Linked DNA regions of Homo sapiens: region 2 is linked to region 1. The links are contacts of gene promoters, found by promoter capture Hi-C in blood cells and fetal thymus (Javierre and others, 2016). All regions are on one chromosome and are shown on one strand. The core of a region is centred on a gene start or on the middle of the fragment in contact, and the rest is flanking DNA. Distances in the headings are between cores, read along the strand shown.

Region 1 (6,937 bases), core at 1,531-4,030:
CTGGATATACATAAAACTCTGAAACAGAATAACAAGTAACTATTGTGGCAAATAGAAGACACGTGATTTGAGAAACAAGCACTATTTTGTGTGACTTATCCTAAATACATTAATACACATAAATATAACTATCATTTATTGGTGATTACGCATAAAGTGGGATGGTGAGAAATGACATGATTTGTGACGCAATTTGTTAAAATAGGCAAACTTGGAATAAAGTATGCAAAAGTAGACACCTCTGTTGATTAATAAAATCAGACTTAGGCCTTTCATTTAGCCTAAGGAAAAAGAAATGCTATTTCATCTAAAACAAGCAAGACCCTTGAGCAAACAAATAGGCAAAAGTCTGTTTCTGATTCAATTCACTGCATTCCTAATAAGTAGTGTCTGTATATCAATAATGAATCCAGTGACCTAACAATGATTTCCTTTAAGTGTTTCTCATACCACTGGTCACGACCCATTAATGGATCACAAGCAGCATTTGCTAAAAATGAAACAGAATAAAATATAAAATATCAGAGGACAACACATGTATTAAGGGAAAGTATTGTTTCCAGAAACTTTTGATTCAGTTGCGTATGTGACAATGTAAAATGTATTTCTAAGTATGGGCTACAATAAAAAACATGTGAAAGCTACTCTCTTGCATATAAGCCCCTCCGCATTACTACTTCTCCCAAAAATTGGGAACTCTACACTTCAATTACTCACAAAAATGAAAAGTGACCTTAATCCAGGGTTCTGACAGTTTAAGTTTGATTTCACAAGCTCTAAAATCAAACTGCCTGAATTCAAACTCAATTTCCACTATTTCCTGACTGAATTTGGACTTATTTAAGCGATCGATATATGCTTCACTTTTGTCATCTGTAAAATGGTTAATCATATCTCCCAAGTGTGGTAAAAATAAATACTACAGTGGGTCAACACATGTTTTACTGTTAACAGAACAAACTGAAGAAGTGATATATATATATATTAGAAATATAGGAGAAACTTAACAGAAGTTATCTCTGGTGTGTTATCTCTGATGTTTCTGTGTGATGCCTTTCATTTTGTATTTTTCTGTCCTATTTGAATTGTATAACGTACAATATATGTATTTCCAATATAATGTTTCTAATGTATAAAACATTATTACCTACATTTTTAAAATATCAACAATAGGTATCCAGGCAGTGAGATTATGGTCCTTTGTTTTTATTTTACAGTTCTCTTTATTTTATAAACATATTATTAGGTGTCTTTGAGAGAAAATCATCAACTACTTGCAAAAAAAAAAAAAAAGACAAGTGTGGGGTCCAGAGCTTAAGAAATTCACACTTTTTGAGGGAGAACTTTGTGCCAGATACTTCTCACCAAATGCTCGCACAACATCATTTTATGATTTTTGCCCATGAGAAAACTGAGGCAACTGACACGAGGTAAATGGTCTGCTAGACAACAAATAATAGTGGCCACAACATCAAAGCCTATATTTCTTCCATCATCATATAATGCATCCAAATATTCTTCTCCAGTTGTTTCACATTGGCATATTTTGGTCTCCCCGTCTAGACTGCAAACTTCTTTAGAAGAAGGGAAACTTTCAAACACTTCATTTATGTCTTTCATTGGGTTATTAAGGCTACAATAGATCCTCAAACATGTGTTGGGTTGTATTAAACCTCTTTTGGTCTGGACTGTCCTCAAAGGACATACCCTTGTAAAAACAAAATAAACTAGCACACAAACGACAAAACTACTCTAAAGCTGTCCAAATCTAACTGTATTCCTGCACACCAAAAACTAAAGTGTAAATATATCCATATGCAGAGACTACCAACTACAGTGAGTTTTGTAATGAGTACTGTGCAACCACTGAAGAATTCCTTGGATTCACTTATCCCCCCCAACCACGCCCCCATCACCCAGGCACCACCAAAAGAAAGGAACCTCCAGTCTTCTGGTGAGGTGATGAAGAACCATAACCACGCCCCCACTTTGTCCCATCACAATAACCTGTTTTCTTGTCCTAACCGGACCCTGCACCCAAACCCATAACCCTTAATAAACAATTCAAAAGTCTCTGACCTGCAGCGAAGTGCAGGGGAGAAGACTTCCGGCCGGCCATGTCCTTTGCATTTACGTTTGCCGCGTCCACCAGCCTCTTTACCCGGGACACGTCCCCATTGCGACAGGCCTCCAGCAGTTCCCGTAGGGCCCCGCTCACTGCTGGGACCCCTGTCCCAGGTCCTGCTGCCCCAGGCCCCAGTGGTGCTGTGCTGCTAACTCCGGCCGCCTCGGGGCTCTCCGCCAAGCTCGATCCAGGGGAGGATGGAGAGGAAGATGAGGAAGAAGTCGGGGAAGAAGAGGACGACGGTGAATTGTTACTGCCACTGCCGGCTGGGTTGGGAGCGACCCCAGCGGCAGATGAAGTAGAAACCGCTGGGACCACGGGAGCGGCGGCGACGGTACAGATTGTGCTGGTGGTACTGCAACAGCTGGTACCGTCAACCGGGTCCGGGGATCGGGGCCTGTCGGGCGGATCCCGACTGCCATCCCCCTCCGGCAGCGCTAGGCCGTGCCGCGGGGAGGCGAAGGGGGCCAGGCCGCTGGCCGTGGGAGAGGCTGGGGTGGTCCCCGGGGCCAGGCCAGGGCTGAGTGGGGGAGGAGGTGGCGGCGGCGGCGCTGAAGCCCCTGGGGCGGGCTGGAGCTGTTGTTGATGATGGTGGTGATGATGCTGAGAGCGACGCGACGCCGCCATCTTCGGACTCCCCTAGCACTGTCACTGCGGCAACGGCCCCCACCGCCCGCCCTCACTTCCGACTGTCGGACCAATCAGCATCCAGCGCACAGGAAATGATGCTAGGCGGGGTAGCAGGGGCCAAAGAGAAGGAGGGAAGTATTGGGAGCTCAGAGAACAGCCAAGGGAACGGGGCGGGGCTTTGTCACTGAGAGGCGGGCTTTGTGACGTGGTGGCGGGCCGGCTGGAGAGATTTGAATGCTGGAACCAGCTTCTGCCTAGATGGGAAACATTTCCTGCATTTCTCACTTTCAGTCGGCTTTCTTTGCCCTGCTCCGCTCTGTTTCCCTTAGTCTCCCTTTGCTTGCTCCAGAGCCAGCTGTTGAGATGCAGATCAGAGCAAGCAGGGAATGTGTCCGTTATCATCTATTAAGCGTCCTTGTCTGAAAAATGGAACTTATAGTACCAACCTCACAGAATTATTAGCGGGATTAAAAGAGCTAACAGACAAAGCGCTCTGCCAGTAAAACACAAGTATAATTAGCCCGTTGGTAATTTTTTAAATTATAGTATTTCTTTTCCAGGTGTCCCCTTGAGCTCTTGTCCCTTCCCTATAATTTTTCTCACCCTATGTGCTTTAATTCCTCGTTTTTAAATGCTGGTTCAGATTGCTAGGATTGGCGTTCCAGCTCTGCCATTTGTTGTTTATATATGTACTTGCTATTTCATCACTCTATGCCTGTTTTTCTCTGTAAAATTGAAATAACAATAGTGCAATAAGTGTGAATTATTAAAATTATGATTTTTTTTTCCTATTCTGCTCTCTCTGAAATTTTATTTTTCACCCTAAGTGTAACTAATTATGAATATATTCCTTTCTTTTGAATTCTGGCTTAGCTTAGCCTCTCCCACACCCGAAACAGATAAAAACCTGATTGCTAGGCTGGTCACGGTGGCTCATGCCTGTAATCCTAGCACTTTGGGAGGCCGAGGCCGGCGGGCCACTTGAGCCCGGGAGTTCAAGATCAGCCTGGCCATCACGGCGAAGCTCCATCTCTACAAAAAATACACAGATTAGCTGGGCAAAGTGGCACATGCGTGTAGTCCCAGCTACTCAGGAGTCTGTTGGGAGGATCACTTGAGCCCGGGAGGCAGAGGTTGCTGTGAGCCGAGGTCACACCACTGCACTCCAGCCTGGGTGACAGAGGGCGGAGACCCTGTCACAAAAACAACAAGAAAACATAACAAAAACCTGATTGCTGTCCATTACTCACCATCAGGTGCTATTTTTCAGCAACTGCTTTTTCTGTCTTTCCCCCAACCTATGTATACTTTTGTTTTTCTACTATCAAAAGATGTATCCATGAATGAGATAATCCCATTGAGGACTCCATTTCATACCTACTGTTCAATAGTAAAGCAGGCATTGTAGAAGTATACAGAAACAGCATTATTCCAATAGAGTGGACACAGATGGAAATTCTGTAAGAGAAACAAGATTTAGATGAGTCAAGCAGAATATTAAACTAGGTGATAAATTGTTTCATGTGTTCATTGTTAAATATGATTTATGTGATGTTAATATTCCCATTTAAGTAAATAGATGAGTTTATTTGGGGTTAGTAAGTAAATACAATAAGGTCAGGAACATAATTAGTATTACGAGTGGCATTTATTTTCATCTAATCTGGGGTTACAGATTATAATTCTTAACATTATCCAGCTGTGTGATGAAATGTGCCATTGTTCGCAGTAGACACCGGACAAAAAGTGTAGCTGGATAGGAAAACTCACATCAGTGCAACTAAAATCAGTCCACAACATTCTTCTTCATGCTTCTGTTTTTTAATCTTAACTTCTTGATGTACAGCAGAGAACCATTGAGAAGTGGGAGTGATCCAACATGATATGTTAGATATCCATAACACACCATGTGTCCCCTAAATAATGGCCTCCTGGAATGGGAGGCATAAGAAATATCTCATCTGGTCTCCCAGTGGTCAGTTACTCATAGAAAGTAGTGATGTTCAGACTTATTCAAAATGCATCTGTTGTGTCTATCAGTACAAAAAATAATAATAACAATAAAATAAGGAAGTCTCTGCTGGACAGAGATTTTTAAAAACTAAATTGCCGGCCAGGCCCAGTAGCTCACACCTGTAATCCCAGCACTTTGGGAGGCCAAGGTGGGCAGATCACGAGGTCAGGAGTTCCAGACCAGCCTGGCCAACATGAGGAAACCCCATCTCTACTAAAAATACAAAAATTAGTTGGGCGTGGTGGTGCGCGCCTGTAATCCCAGCTACTGCGGAGGCTGAGGCAGGAGGATGGCTTGAACCCAGGAGGCAGAGGTTGCAGTGAGCCGAAATCGTGCCACTGCACTCCAGCCTGGGTGGCAGAGCAACATTGTCTCAGCAAAACAAACAAACAAACAAAAAACAAAAAACTAAATTGCCTGAAACTGGACTGGAAAACCATGTCTGGAAATGCATTCAATCAACTGGAAATTGCTTTCTTCCCCTCGAGCAGAAAGTAGGAAAAGTACTTAACATTAAGTATTTATGAAGTTTGGGTTTATACCGACTAATGTTGAGCTCCAAACATGAAAGGACACATGCTATTACCTAATCTTCTGTGGCTAAACACAATTCCAGGAGGAATGCACTATATCATAGTGGAAAGAGCAAAGCTTGGGGTCAAACAAACCTGGGCTTGAAAGTCACATCTCTGATGATTACTAGTTGGCTAATCTTGATAGGTATGCTTCAGCTCTCTCAGCCTAAAATGTTGACCTTAGTTTAGCACTGTCATGAGGATTAAAAGCCTAGGTGTTTTTTAAGCACTCTTTGAATGTTAGATCCGTTCTCTTACATGGCATGCATAAAGTGTTAACATGAACTCACAGCCACTATTGATAGCTTTCCCCTCGCAACTTCCTTTGTGACAAAGATAGGGGCTGGGAATAAATATCCATCGTTTTACACAGAATGGGAATCTAAAGCAAAGAAACATTAGGTTTAATTCTTTCCTTATCTGATAATTCAGGATTCTTTATAAACTCTGTCTCTAAACTATTGTTGATCACAGGTGTGTAGTATCTTATTTTCATAAGCGTTTTCACAAAAACAATATCCTGGCCGAGTACAGTGGCTCACACTTATAATCCCAGCATTTTGGGAAGCTGAGGCAGGAGAATGCTTGATCCCAAAAAATCAAGATCAAAGATCAGCCTGGGCAACAAAGTGAGACCCTGTCTACACACACACACACACACACACACACACACAAAGTATACCCAAGTACTACAAAAATGGGAGCACATAGCACTCTCTTAGGCTATACTGTTGACACAAAAGAAAAGCCACCAACTCAAAGGACACCGATCTTTTGGGCTGTGTTCTGATGTTTGCTTTCTTACCCTATGGGGTTCGCATGGACACTCTGAAAATTACACAATCATGAACTTGCACAAGTTCCATATTTCAACTGGAATTGGTGTGTCATTCCATCCATATACTTCCCATTGATCTCCCACCGTATTTGGTATTCTGGTAGTATTTCTACTAAGTCTAGTTATTCTTCGATCCCCTCTGCAATGCCTCCTCCGCAAATCCACGAGCACAAGCCAGAGCTGTGGTTTGGCTGAGGCATGTCATTTCCTCATTTTTGGTCTTACCGAAACATAATAAGTTATTTTTATGTCAGAAATGTCTATGGTGCCAAGGGCCCAGATTTCTCTATAAAAGTGTTGCGTTCTCTTAGTTGAAGTTCCATCCAGAAACCCAGGTGAATATTTTTTTACAAAACCACAGATGGGCAATGATGCCAACAGCTGCAATCGTACTAACAACATTGTATCAGAAAAAGCTTTACCAAAAAAAAAACAGGTAAAACAACTTATTACAAGACAGCAAAATTACAGTAATTTAAAGATATCCTCTGTATCAGTTTCTTAGCAACTCTCCCATTAAAGTTTTAGTAGCTTTATAAGATAGCTCTTACATACCAGGGTCTTCTGGCTGCTGCTCCAAAGACATCTGTAGCCTGCACTGAGATAACTTGGATTTTTTCTGGCTATGGTCTGTACGCTCATGGGTAGTCGGTTTAATTTGAAGTGTTAGTTCCAGGCAGAGAGTTAGTTCCGGGCAGAGAGGTGGTTAAAGGTGTGGATTCCACATACAGACTGCTTGGATATGAATCCTAGCT
Region 2 (6,937 bases), core at 2,291-4,790, 110 kb before region 1:
ATTACTAAATGAACTACATTATTTAATTAGGTTATTCCAAATTAATGAGCATTTCTCTATATGTGAAGTCTGAATCCGTGGTAATATATCCATTAAGTCCAAGCTGAATCAATTGTGACTTCTGCTATAACTATGTTCAGAAAGATTATTGGACAAAGTATTAATCTAAATATAAATGTAAATATTTTTACTTTTACCACTCATTTACAGATATGTAACATGATATCCCTAGTTACACATTAACCTAACACATTAAAATACAGATTCTGCTACATTATAATCCATACAATGCCTTGTCCCTACTTTCTTTTTTCCATTCTTTTTTTTTTTTTTTTTTTTGAGGCGGAGTCTCGCTCTGTCGCGCAGGCCGGACTGCGGACTGCAGTGGCGCAATCTCGGCTCACTGCAAGCTCCGCTTCCCGGGTTCACGCCATTCTCCTGCCTCAGCCTCCCGAGTAGCTGGGACTACAGGCGCCCGCCACCGCGCCCGGCTAATTTTTTGTATTTTTAGTAGAGACGGGGTTTCACCTTGTTAGCCAGGATGGTCTCGATCTCCTGACCTCATGATCCACCCGCCTCGGCCTCCCAAAGTGCTGGGATTACAGGCGTGAGCCACCGCGCCCGGCCCTTTTTTCCATTCTTATTGCTACAATTTATTTATGTACTTTTTCTTTCACCCACCTCCTATAACAGTCCTGTAGCTAATCCCTAAATTACTCCTTAATCCCTTGTCTCTAGCCCTTAATTCAGTTACATTAATTTCTGCTTTAATTAGTTTATTCTCCTATTCAATAATAATAATAATAATCAAAATAGTATAAATGTATGAGTCCCCATACCTGTCTTACAAAATGGTGTTCAACCCTACAGCTGAATAGTCAAAATCCTTTAAAAATATAGACTAAATTTATTCAATTTATTATTCACTGTTCCCTATTCCACCTTACCTTCTCAACACACACTATCAACTCTACATCACTCACTTTTACCCAAATACACCTTGCATTTTCCTGAATGTCTTTGCTCATGTTGACAATGATCTAAGCTCCAATCATTTGCACTTGTTAAAATCTTGCCACAAACATATGGCCAAACTTACACATAACTTCCTTCATGAAATCACTCCACACCATTTCAGTTAAAAACACTGTCAAAGGGCACAGATTCCAGTCCTAGCTTTGACACTACAGTTTTAAAATTTTAGGCAAGTTATTTGCTTATTCTGAGTCTTAATCATAAGGATATCAAACTAGTTTATCTTGTCAAGCCTGTTCTAAGATTATATTTCTAACCATTATGTGTACATCAGAAGTTCTTAACCTCTGGTAATTTCATGGAATTCAAAAATTCTGTAAATACTTGACAACTAGAGGCAAAATTTGAGTGTATGTTCAAATGTGCAATGTATTTTCTCCCTAAGGAGTGGATCTAAAGGTGCTTTTATTAGCTCCTTAAAGTGGTCCATGACCCAAAAAAGGTTAGGAACCATCATTTCTCTGATCTAAATCTTTTATTTACACAGACATAAACTGATACAAACAGCCCTTACATACCAATGGTAAATCTCCGAAAGCTTTAAGAATATAGTGCTTGGCGCTGTTATTTCTTAGAAATGATTCCGAATGATTTTTCCTCAACACACCTGACAGATAATGTTCACACGGGTGATTACTTTCATCAGCAACAGCTGGGCCCTGCAGTCTACTAAATGAACAAGTTGCTGCAGGTTTGGTGCCACTGCTAGCATGCTAGCTCTAAACTCCATCACTTTCTCCAACAATTCAAGATTTCTGTTATCTGTATCAGTGCTGTATTGTGCTTGGCATATTGTAAACAGTGCCTGTATATTTGTTAAATGAAAAAATAAATGACGTGATTCAAAGAGAACTAGTAAATGAATGAGACTCAAAAAAAAAAAAAAAAACCCAGAAGGGCTTAAATGAGAAAGGATATTAATCAGACTTCACTAAAGTCAATGAAATCTAACACAGTAAGAGATTTAGTGATACTTTTGGGAAAATATAAGAAAAAAATAACTGAAGTGTGTGCAGCTGAAGAAGTAAATCACAATTGGTGCTTCTTGAGGAAACCATAATTGCACTCACTACATCTTTCTGAGACGTTTTGTAAATCAATGACAGACTATGAAGGATAAAATGCAATCATACACAATAATCACAACAAAGACAAGACAGTTCTGACATCATTCAAAAAGCAGTCACATGCCTCCACATCAGTCTGCAATTCCTCAGGATGATATGGTTATAAGATGCAGAGGTCAGGCAATCCCTGAATAGGCGACTCCCAAAACTTCAGCCCTCAGTAGGCTTACGCATCCAGGGGCCAAGCATCCCGATAAGAGCAAGGGCTGTAGGAAAGTAATTTTCTTTTCACAGACAATGGCCTGGTTCCTATAAATCACAATACGCTTTGTTCATATATCCTGAGAGTTCTGAGATTGCAGCTACTACATATACAGCAGTTTCTTAAATGAAGAGATCATATTGGCATACTGGTTTAAACAAAAATGAGTTCTTTCTGAAATAATTATTTCAATATAAATACTTCACATAAAAATAATACAAATATTAAGAAGAATCTCTGAAGAAAGTGTTTTTGAGTATTCTGTCGTTTCTATTTGTTGAATGACTTATGTTCCTCCCATAAATTTATCAACTACCCTCATATAAAAATTATCACTTTGTCTTATTAGAATACTGCTACCATAAAAATCGGAACACTCAAGAACTAAATCATTCCAGATAGCCAAGTTTTTAACATAACTGCTAATTTAGCATTTTAATTTCTCTTTTCTTGATAGAATTTCTTTATGAAATATATTACATACCTCTATACACTGAAAAACAGATCACTCCAAACATAATTTTACTCTTCTTGACAATTCAGGGCCAATTATTATGAACCTCCACCAGCCTTTGGAATAATATAGCAATGCTCTCTGGACTACTGAGATGTGCAGGGACATTTGTACTTACTCAAAACGGTTCAAGATTGCTATGTATTTTACTTTTTTTTTTTTTTTTAGATAGAGTCTCACTCTGTCGCCCAGGCTGGAGCGCAATGCAACCATCTTGGCTCACTGCAAACTCTGCCTCCTGGGTTTCAAGCAATTCTTGTGCCTCATCCTCTCGAGTAGCTGGGACTACAGGCGTGAGCCACCACAGCCAGCTAATTTTTGTATTTTTAGTAGAGACGGGGTTTCACCATGTTGGCCAGGCTGGTCTCGAACTCCTGGCCTCAAGTGATCTGCCAGCCTTGGCCTCCCAAAGTGCGGGGATTACAGGCGTGAGCTACCACACCCAGCCATATTTTACTTTTTAATACGTAATTTATTTCTCTCTTTTCCTTTGCATAAATTAATCTCTTTATATATTTCCTTTTAGTTTAGAATGTTTGAAAAGTGCTGTCCAGTAGAAATATAAGCTTCCTATGTAATTGTAAACTTCCAGTAGCAATGTTTAAAAAAGACATGAGTTTTAATAGCACGTTTTATTTACCCTACTATATCCACAATATTACCATTTCAACGTGTGGCAGCGTGTTCAGCAGCCAGCTGTGACGAGTGGCTTTGTGCTGGACAGTGCACATCTAAAACCATCATGAGCTGGAAGCTTACAACAGTAAAACGGTTGTAATCAGTCAGCAGCAAAAGCTGTTACTACAGTAGGAGCAAATTTGCGCTGAGTAAGATGAGGATTCTCCTAGGTACAAGGAACTTCAGTTTCAGAGCATGACTTTGCACATTTATTTGGAGGACAGAGAGAAAAAAAGAGGAGGGGAGGAAGAAGAGAGAAGAGTAGTAAAAAGAGAGGTAGGAATGAGGTTAGGGAGGGGAAAAGGATCCAATAAAAATATTCTTGAGGTGCGTAGACTCTGAGGAGGCTTAGAGACTCATAAGGCAACATGAGGCCTTTCTTAGTAGTTACTCTAGGGCTTGTAAAGGTGCATGCAATAATAATGGGAATTCACGAGAGTGAATTCATGAGAGTTGAAGAATCCTTGCACCATGCTCCAGTATCCAGAGAAAGAGACCAGTAGAGGTTAACAGTGACTCCTGAAAAGGCAGCACAAGGTTATTATGAGGCTACCTCATTCACATGTATATGCCAAGAGATGACTGAGAGTATGCTTAAGACAACAGGTCAAACACACTACTAATCCCTTTTATGGAATCTTGTAGAGATGCACAACTTTACCATAAGAAATACAGACCATTTCTAGTGACTCTGAAGTCCTGGACAAGGGACCAAAGGCATTGGTGAATTCAGCATTTCTTCCTGCTAACTTAAAAGAAGTGGAAATACGAATAAAAAACAGAAAAAGTAAATCTGGTTTTCAGAATGATGACTCCCTGGCAACTGCTGAAGAGCATCACATGATTGACAAGAACATTTAATCAGGATAAAGGCAATGTCCTGCTATTAGAGCCCTTCTCCCCTCAAAAACAGTCAACTGTTCAAATATGTAAGTGAAGAAAGACTAAAAACTGACTCCAGACTAGCCCCAGTAAAAATATTTTGAAGCTAGTTTGACAGGAAGCTCAAGGAAACCAATGTAACAAATTTCAAAACAGCAAATGGAAACTTACGTCAACAGAATTTTAAAAAGGAGGGGAGGAAAACTTAGTCTAGAGTACAAAAGCTTGAAGTGATAGTAGGTGGTGAGTATAGGAAAGGTCTTGATTAGCATTGTCAGTATTTCAGAGAGGGCTCTCAAAAGGAAAAACATCCTTATACGATGTAGTTCCAAAAAGAAGTTACTATATTTGGCTTAATGCATAGAAGTATTTCTAACCATTTAAGTTACCCAACAATGGACTAATGGCAGACAGCACATAGGGATATGGTATAGAAATGCCGTGTAGTAATATAGTACGGAATCCTTATGGGGTAAAAGGTTAGATTAGCTAACCTCTAAATTTAAGGTCTCTTCTAGAGTCATGAACGTGTGACTTTTATTAACAGTTGTATACTTGTTAATTATATAAAATTGAACTTAAATTACACATGCATGCGTTTTTTATTTTCTGATCTTCATTAGAACCATCTTCAGTTCTCTAAATGCAGTTCATAATTTTATGTACATTACCTGTATATGTACTGTGAGTGATTTATAATAAGAAATATGTATTTGGTCTTCCTTTCCTGGCACATAGCCCCTAAATCTCTTGGAATTTCAGATGAGTGTCTCAGATAAGTGATAAGTACATTTTTATATGTTAACGTGCTACAGTTTGAATGTTTGTGCCTTCCAAATGTATGTTGAAATTGGATGCCCAATGTTGGAGGTGGGACCTAGTAAGAGGTGTCTGAGTCATGGAGGTGGATCCCTCATGAATAATTTAATTTGCGTTGGAAGGTGCACGGGGAGGAAGTGTGAGTGAGTTCTCACTCTATTAGTTCCTTCAATAGTTGGTTGTGAAAAACAGCCTGGCACCTCCCTCTCCATCACTTTGCTTCCTCCCTTGCCATGTCGTCTTTGCACATGCTGACTCCCCCTCACCTTCTGCCAGGAGTGGAAGCAATCTGAAGCCCTCACCAGACATAGATGCTGGCACCATGCTTCTTGTACAGCCTGCAAAACTGTGAGCCAAATAAACCTCTTTTCTTTATAAATTACCCAGCCTCGAGGTATTCCTTACAGCAACACATTAAATGGACTAAGATATAATGAGACGACTGATGGCTGGGGGCTCCTGGATAGTCTCCAGATAGGGGCTGGTACCAGAGGAAACAATCATGTGACTGGATGGGTGGAACTTTCAGCCCCATGCCTGATCTCCAGGGAGGGAATGATATAATCAATTGGCCACAGTGAAGCCTCCAGAGAAACCCCAAGGGACAGGGTTGAAAGTGTTTCTGGGTTACTGAACGTGTGGAGGTGCTAGGAAGGTGGAGCACTGGGAGGGAGTATGGAAGCTCCTTGCCCCTGCCCACTGACCTTGCCCTATGTACCTCCTCATCTGGCCATTCATCTGCAGCCTTTGTAATTCCTTTATAATAAACTGGTAAACATATCTTCCTGAGTTCTGTGGGCACCACTAGCAAATAATTAAACTTGATGAAGAGGTCATGGGAACCCCCAATTGACAGCCAGCAGATAAGAAGTATAGATGACAACCTACTACTAGCGAGTAGCCTCTAAAGTGGGGTGTAGTCTTCTGGGACTGAGCCTTTAACTCACTGGATCTGACGTTAATTCCAAGCAGACAGTGTTAGAACAGAATCAAATTATAGGACACCTAACTGCTGTTGGAAGAGTGCTCATGGTAGGAAAAACTTGCAAATTTTGGTGACCAGAAGTGAAATAAGCAGTAAAACAAAAAAGAGGTTTCTTTTCCTTTACACATACATATACACACACGTGTTTGTATTTGACAAGCACTTTCCTTGAATAAACTCACTTAATCCTCAAATAATGCTCTGAGGTAACTGGGCAACAAAAGGTCAAACACTTCAGATATTAGTTTCCTATTGTTATTGTAACACAATACCAGAAACTAAGTGAATTAAAACACACATTTATTCCCACACAGTTCTGGAGGTCATAAGTCTAAAATGGATGAGCAGGGATGTGTTCCTTCGGAGCCTCTAGGGGAAAACACATTTCCTTGTCTTTTTCAGCTTCCAAAGCCTGCTCACATTCCTTGGCTTGTGGCCATGCATCACTATGACCTCTAATTCTGTCATCAGATCGTCTCTGATTCTGAGCCTCCTTTAAAGAATCCTTGTGATTATACTGGGCCTATCCAGATAACCCAAGATAATCTCTCCATCTCAAGATTAACTTAATCACATCCGCAGTCTTTTTATCCCATAAGGTAACATAGTTACAGGTTCTGGGGATTAGTATGTTGACATCTATGGGGGCTAGTATTCTGCCTACCACAACTAGTAAATGGCAGATTGAGGATTTT

What was found. Contacts are between HindIII fragments. The CHiCAGO score rates a contact against its expected background, and 5 or more counts as called.
Region 2: a fragment that was not itself captured here is called in contact with the fragment with the promoter of TNKS in region 1 in 1 of 17 cell types (megakaryocytes); the score reaches 5.5 in megakaryocytes.

The regions. Positions count from the first base shown.
Region 1 is chr8:9,551,755-9,558,691 of GRCh38, reverse strand. It overlaps TNKS (tankyrase), which reads right to left and starts at 2,780. Exons shown (of 27, transcript NM_003747.3): 1 at 2,080-2,780. The coding sequence starts at 2,752. RefSeq lists enhancers at 1,776-2,435, 2,436-3,097, 6,153-6,312 and a silencer at 2,518-2,677. The HindIII fragment of the contact is 11,121 bases long and covers 1-5,422 here.
Region 2 is chr8:9,662,827-9,669,763 of GRCh38, reverse strand. The region is part of intron 3 of TNKS (tankyrase); the gene reads right to left. Among named protein-coding and RNA genes, the nearest start is that of MIR597, 75 kb to the left of the region's middle. The HindIII fragment of the contact is 188 bases long and covers 3,447-3,634 here.